2 separate regions of the Homo sapiens genome follow, and region 2 is linked to region 1. The links are contacts of gene promoters, found by promoter capture Hi-C in blood cells and fetal thymus (Javierre and others, 2016). All regions are on one chromosome and are shown on one strand. Each heading gives the region's core, a stretch centred on a gene start or on the middle of the fragment in contact. The rest is flanking DNA. Distances are from core to core; before and after follow the strand shown.

Region 1 (3,469 bases), core at 35-2,534:
CCAGCGAGACCACGAGCCCACCGGGAAGAACGAACAACTCCAGAGGCTCTGCCTTAAGAGCTGTAACACTCACCGCCTAGGTCTGCAGCTTCAATCCTGAGCCAGCGAGACCACGAACCCACCAGAAGGAAGAAACTCCGAACACATCTGAACATCAGAAGTAACAAACTCCAGACGCACCACCTTAAGAGCTGTACCCACTCACCGCGAGGGTATGCGGCTTCATTCTTGAAGTCAGTGAGACCAAGAACCCACCAATTCCAGACACACTATGGGCTCACAGCGTGTACTCGCGCACACGCAGTCAGGTGTGGATGTACACCCGCGCACACCCAGGCACATGTACACCCGCGCGCTCACACACCCCATCCAGCTACAGCAGAATTCTGGCCAGGCTGTTGACCGCACACCTGCTGCCTCCTTGGCCACCCTGTCCACACAGTAGCCCGATCGACCCCCGTGGCGGCCGAGACCCAGGCCCATCCGCAGCCCTGAGACCTCCCTAGGGATTGCACCCAGCAGCCAGTCACCGGCCTCCGCGGCCTGGCCAGTTGAGGGTGGCCGTGACCGCGGGGCCAGGAGCGCCGCCACATCTCGGGGCAAATGGCGCGGGGGAAGAGTTTCCTCCTCAGCCTCCCCGTCTCCGATCGCTCCGCAAACTCCAGAGCGAGGCACGCGCCTTTAAAGGCAGGTCCGCGGCTCTCCCACGTCCTGGCGCCCGGTTTTCCGCACCCAGTGTCCCCACAGCTGTGCCCGGGCACAGAGGCGCGGCCAGACCGCACTCCGCGGGCTGCAGGTGTCCCGGCCTCTGGCGGCGCCGGTGCGGCCCGGAGGTGGGAGCCCGCGGAGCCACTGCAGTAGCTGGAGTCCCGCCGAGTCCCCAGCCCCAAGGCAGGGCAGGAGCGCGCACCGGCCGGAGGTCCATGCTGAGCATCGCCCGCGCCGGTGCCCGGCAGCCTCTCCAACTGTGTGGTCCCCGCGCGGGCAGAGAGGCACGGACTGCAGGCCGTGGGCAGCTCCATCTTCCCGCGTCCTCCTCCTCTGGCGCTGCCCGCTGTCTCCCGCCTTCCCTCTGCTCCCCGCTCGCCTCCGCCTCAGCGCCCCGCTGACCTCGCCTCCTCCCCTCTGCTCTTTGTCCCTGCACTCTCCCCTCCTCGGTCCTCTGACCCCCCCGCCCTCACCTCCTCCCCTCCTCTCTCCCCTGCCCGCCCCGCGCTCTCCCACCGCTCCCGCCGCCCCCGCCGCCGCGGCTGCCACTCCGCCCCCCGCGCCGCACGGAGCTTCAGTAATAACCCCGGCGCGGCGGCGGAGTCGCTGTGGGGAATCCTCCCGCGCTCTGCCTGGGTCGGGTCCTCCCTGCCCGCTCGCACGCTGCCGGCCGGGGACCCTCCGGTGGCCCCTAGCCCCTCGGAGCGCTCCTGGATGAAGCCCCGCGCGCGCGGATGGCGGGGCTTGGCGGCGCTGTGGATGCTGTTGGCGCAGGTGGCCGAGCAGGTGAGTCCCGGGCGCTCCCACCAGCGCGGAAACCGCGGGTCCGGACAGCTGGAGGCGAGTCCCCCGCGGCTCCTCTCCCGCGGACCCCGCCGTCTCACCGCGATGTCGCCGCTGTTTTCCGCAGGCACCTGCGTGCGCCATGGGACCCGCAGCGGCAGCGCCTGGGAGCCCGAGCGTCCCGCGTCCTCCTCCACCCGCGGAGCGGCCGGGCTGGATGGAAAAGGGCGGTAAGTCCGTGAGGTGGGGGCTTCTAATCCTTGCCATTTAGCAGCTCGTAATCTCCGTGCCGCTGGTTTATTAGGTGCTGTGAATGTTCACGACTCTGTGGAACCCTACTTTTAAGATGCTGTTGTGAACTTTTTTTTTTTTTAACTGTATGAGCGAGCCCCGATGAGTGGATTTCCACCAATATTTACATTTTATTCCCTGGCAAAACGGTTTGCCAGAGTTATTGATATAACATTAGGAAAAAGGTGAGGAAGTTCATTTTATTTTATTCTAAAGAGCTTAGGAAGAATCTAAAGCTATTAATGTATGCATCAAAGCCGTCATAAAGAGCAAATTACTTTCTTTTCCGTCCCCTTCTACATCCTCGGATCCTCCTTCCCGTCCCCAACCTTTCCTCCTTCTCCTCCTTTATAGATTAAAATATTCCTCTATCGTTGCTTATTCTCAGTGAAGGAGATAAAAGAAGCGCTTAGCATCTCAATACCAAAGTTAATGCTCCAACAATCAGGGCGTACTTCAAACATAATAGTGCCTGAAATGGCTAATCAGCTGATTGTGACACCATCAGCAACGTTCATATCCTGGGCCACAATTTGACATGAGGGCAAGTCTTATTCTTTTTCAATGCATGCTTTTACTTCTGCCACTTACAAGTGACATTTGGAAATTTGCTGTCTTATGGAAAGGGATCTCTGTGTCTTCATACTGCATCAGGTAAATGAGAACGCAGGTGTGTCGCACTGGTTGCTAGGTGGTTTTTTAACCTGAACCCATCCAATGACAGTTAATAAATATTATTTTGCATTGTTACCAACAATAAATTGCCGTATCAAATGTTAATATTAATTGACTTTTATAGGAAGAACTAGGTTTCATTCTCTCAATGTATTTCCAGAAGATCTAGAAAATTAAAGTTAACAATTCAGAATTTCTCAGTATAGTTATTTCAATTTGATAAAATAACATAAAGGCAAGCACTTAATATATGCATTAACTTTTGAAATTATTCCCTGCCAAATGAGTACACAAATAGTATATAAGGTGACCGGTGTCAGATTGACGCTCACCATAGTACCTTTTTGAGAACCACCAGGGGGCGCTAGGTGCAAATGATATAAAATGTTAAAAAAAATTGTCACAGTGAATTTACAAGAGAAAGTTAATTATCTGTCCATTTACAGACTATCCTCTTGTGGTTGTCCTTGTCCTTTTTAGGGTTTTGCTTACAATACTAAAAGTTAATTCTTACAATTTTAAAGGTTAATTCTAATTCACCTTTTTAAGTAAGATTTTTGTAAAAAAAAAAAAAAAAATTCTAGTTCCCTAAAACCATGAAAATTCCAGAGGGACTCAGGAGATTTCCACAATAGTTTATGGCATTTATGAAGTTTTATTTAAGATAAAACACATTATAGACACAGAAGAAAGAAGAAGAAAAGCCAGGGCTTCGTGCCTAAGTGTGCTTTTCTCCTAAAGTGATTCAATCTGCTTCAGCATCCTCTCTGGGAGTGGGGTGCCAGTGTGCTGCTCTGAACACCTGGCACCACAGTTGTTGTCACAACGTATCGTCTCCATGACAACCACTTATCTGGCTTGGTAAGAACCTGAAGGGGAAGAGGCAAACCCTTCTTAGTGAAGTTCTAGCCCAGTGGACACAGCACACACCCTCCTCCCCTACCTTCTATGCACTTTAGCTCCTTAATTATAAATGGCTAATGTGTGAGTCTGGACATCCACAACAAGCTTT
Region 2 (3,622 bases), core at 142-2,641, 2.7 Mb after region 1:
GGTCAGCATCCAGCTGAGTAACTGGACGGTTGTCATTGCTTCACAGCTTCTTTCCAAGCCAAAATTCAGTGGAGTTGAAAAGATTAAGACCATTGGCAGCACATACATGGCAGCAACAGGTCTGAGCGCTGTGCCCAGCCAGGAGCACTCCCAGGTAAGACGCGTTGGCCACTTAACGGCACAGGTGAGCCTCAACCCCATCCACAAACCACCCTGGGACCAAAACAGCCATGAAATGCCCCAAGAACTGTATATTTTGTACAACCTAAAGCTCAGGGTCAAGGTCCTATGAGAGAAGATGAAAATTCCAGACTTCTTAGAGCCAGAGGATCTGTTCACAGAACTCCTTCTGCTGGCCAACAGGAGAAGAAAAACCAATCAGTAGCTGCTTGTTACCAGATAAATACACAATGAAGTAGAAGATGAAAGCTAGTTATTTGAAGGAGACTCAGTAAGAATGGATCCAGGTCTTTTGATTTAAAAGAATATAGTCAAGGCCGTGTGCGGTGGCTCACGTCTGTAATCCCAGCACTTTGGGAGGCCGAGGTGGGTGGATCTCTTGAGCTCAGGAGTTTGAGACCAACCTGGGCAACATAGTGAAACCCCGTCTTTACCAAAAATACAAAAAAAAAAAATAGCCAGGTGTGGTAGCATGCACTTGTGGTCCCTGTTACTCAAGAGGCTGAGATGGGAGGATGGTTGAGCCTGGGAGGTGGAGGTTGCAGTGAACTGAGATCGCACCACTGCACTCCAGCCCGTGTGACAGAGTGACACCGCATCTAAAAAATGAATTAAAATAAAATAATGTGGTCAAAAAACAAGTTGGCCACATGGAAATTTCATTGAAAAGGTCATTTGGGCAAAATTGAATATCTTCAATCAACTAAGGTTTTCGAGATTTTCTCGTGTGTGTGTGTGTGAGAGAGAGAGAGAGAGAGACAGCATGTATGTAGACATGCTTGTGTAACTTGTTGGAATATTAGTAAAAAAGACCTCCTTTCCCCTCAGGACAGTGGCCTTTGCTGTGGAGCCTGCCCTCTGCTGGGCAGACCACAGAGAAACTGCACTTACCAGAACACACTTTCTGTGGACAGGCAGGTTCTCAAAGAGAAGAAGGGTTGAGTACCATGTATGAGCCCCTCTCCCATAACCACCTCCCATGGGAAGAGTGAGAGTGGGGAGAGAGGCAGCAGGCACCATAACAGAGCTCCCTCTTCCAGGAATATCATGAGAGGGTCCTAGTTTCCCGCTTAACATTCATGCATTCATGGGCAAAGAGTAGAACATGGATAGACGTCTGACTCAAGATGGAACCCTAGCATTCTTCCAGTTAATTGGAGTGATATGTATTCCATTGGTTCTCCTCTTCAGGTGGTTGCCTTCAGATTATTATTTTTTAATGAGTATGCATTACTTCAGTAATAAAGAAAATAAAAGAAACAAGCCATAAAAGAAACCCCAGAAGAACCTTGCCTTTGAATTCTGAGCAACACCCTCTCAAGCCATCATGGAGTCTGTGGCCAAAGGAAAACTGCTGTATCCTCTGCATGGTGTTGTAGATTTTTAATGGTTAGGGTTTTTTCCAGAACATTAAAGTGTTAAAAAAATTGAAAAAATGTAAAATCGAGATATTAAAATGTACAACATTCTTTTAATTTTAAATATTCTATTTATAACCCAAACCAGAACTAATTACAATTTTAGTTTCCTGGCTTTCATGGAAACAAATATATGCTCCTCCAATGCCTTTAATGTTCTGGAAAACATTGACCATTAAAAAAAAAATAACATTAAGACATGTATAGAGACAGGCATTTTTCTTACTGCCTCAGGCTCTAAGATGCTCAGCACAACACTGTCAGGACCTATGTGTCTTAGTCTGCTTGGCCTGCCAGGCAGAATACCACAGGCTGGGTGGCTTAAATGACAGAAATTTATTTCTCACAGTTCTGAAGGCTGGGAAATTCAGGACTGAGGTGCTGGCTGATTAGGTGTCTGCTGAGGGCTCCTCTTCTGTCTTGCACACAGCAGCCTTCTCACTTCTCTTAGGCCTCCCATGGAGGGGAGAGAGAGAGAGAGACAGAGACAGAGAGAGAGCTGGTTTCTCTTCCACTTTAAAGAGGGCACCAGTTCCGTTGGATCGGAGCTCCACCCTTATCATCTTAGTTGACCATAATTACCTCCTAACAAAGCTCTGTCTTCAGTACAGTCACCTGGGAGGTTAGCACTTCAACATATAAATTTTAGGGAGGACACAATCCTGTCCACAGCAGTATCTTTATTTAAAATTTCATTATTTTAGTTCATCTTGAATTTTTCTGCATTGATTTTGATTTTTAAAAATATTGCACTAGCATATTATTTCTCATGATTGCTGAGCTTCTTTCTCCTTCTGAAGTTTCTCTCCTGAGGTGAGTGCCTCACTTACCTCACCCTCATCCAGTTATGACTTGGAGGCTTCTCCAGCTCATCTAATGAGGGCCATCAGGAGCACTTCACCTGATCACATCCACTCCAGCCCTTTGCTCTTGGACAGCCAACTAACAATACTTTGGCAGGGCCTCGGAGTGGGAGATCTTCCGAGGCACCACCACATGAAGACCTGTTCCACAATCAGTGTCACTCTACAGCCCAGGGTGCGTGTCTGCCTGTTCTTCCTGACCCTAACTCTGCCTCCATCAGACCCAGTCTTCTGGATGTTCAAGAAAAGTCTCCAGGTCTTTTCTCTTCCTTTCCGCAGCCACGCTTTATAGACTGAGAGTCCATAGCCACTGCCTTTATCTTTCACCTTCTACTTTCTCTCTACACCTCCACAATCCTGCCTCACCAATGCCATCAGGAACTCTACTCTTAATGACCAAAAAAACACTTCCAGATTCCAAAATTCCAGTCCAATCACATTCTCTGAGCATTCGTCCTAGGTGACGCCCTGTCTGTGGATGGCCGTTGCCTTTGCCTGGTAATCCTCCCTTGGCTTTTGAGCCCTTCCATTGTCTGGCCCCAGCCTGTGCTCCCTCTGTGTGGGACATTGTAATATTCTTTCCCCAACCCCTCTTCTCTATCAGGGACCTCTCCTAAGACTTTATCTATCCCCTCTGCACATTCGATCTCCACCAAAACCTCTATCCGCTATCTTGACCATTGGGCCAGACTTGGATCACTTCCAGCTTCCTATAGACACCCTGCTTTCTAACACTACTGCCATTTTCTTCTTGTCCTCCCCACTTTGGAAACAGGGCCCCAACCCTCTGCCTCAGCCTACTGCCCTGACCCATCCCCTACCTCTCCCTACAGTCTCTACACCAGCCCTCAAACATGCATGTGCTTTTGTGCAGACCAACCTGGGTCCTATCCACATCCTCTCCAGGTATGGTGCACCCATGACCTGTAGCAGCACCACCTGTGGTGGTTGTTACAGTGGTTTCCAGGGACAGCCTCAAGCCTGCTGTGTCTCTGGGGTGGGCTGGGGACCCCCATTTCCACTAGTTTACCGAGGTGATTCTGATGCTCACAGAAGATGCCCTGCCTGGTCAAGGAGCCTTTCAGAATCTCACTCATCAGAATGCCAAGGCTCCAACTTTCACAGAAGGCTTTCCCGTGCCCCAACCTGGGGAGCTTTGCC

What was found. Contacts are between HindIII fragments. The CHiCAGO score rates a contact against its expected background, and 5 or more counts as called.
Region 2: a fragment that was not itself captured here is called in contact with the fragment with the promoter of ADAMTS16 in region 1 in 1 of 17 cell types (total B cells); the score reaches 10.8 in total B cells.

What each region holds. Positions count from the first base shown.
Region 1 is chr5:5,139,046-5,142,514 of GRCh38, forward strand. ADAMTS16 (ADAM metallopeptidase with thrombospondin type 1 motif 16) reads left to right here and starts at 1,285. Exons shown (of 23, transcript NM_139056.4): 1 at 1,285-1,494; 2 at 1,619-1,721. The coding sequence starts at 1,423. ADAMTS16-DT (ADAMTS16 divergent transcript) reads right to left here and starts at 1,009. Exons shown (of 4, transcript NR_109915.1): 1 at 911-1,009. It overlaps ADAMTS16-AS1 (ADAMTS16 antisense RNA 1), which reads right to left. Exons shown (of 2, transcript NR_198969.1): 2 at 3,093-3,326. RefSeq lists an enhancer at 491-1,057. The HindIII fragment of the contact is 3,896 bases long and covers 1-3,463 here.
Region 2 is chr5:7,804,539-7,808,160 of GRCh38, forward strand. It overlaps ADCY2 (adenylate cyclase 2), which reads left to right. Exons shown (of 25, transcript NM_020546.3): 22 at 47-154. Among named protein-coding and RNA genes, the nearest start is that of CFAP90, 45 kb to the right of the region's middle. The HindIII fragment of the contact is 7,785 bases long and covers 1-3,622 here.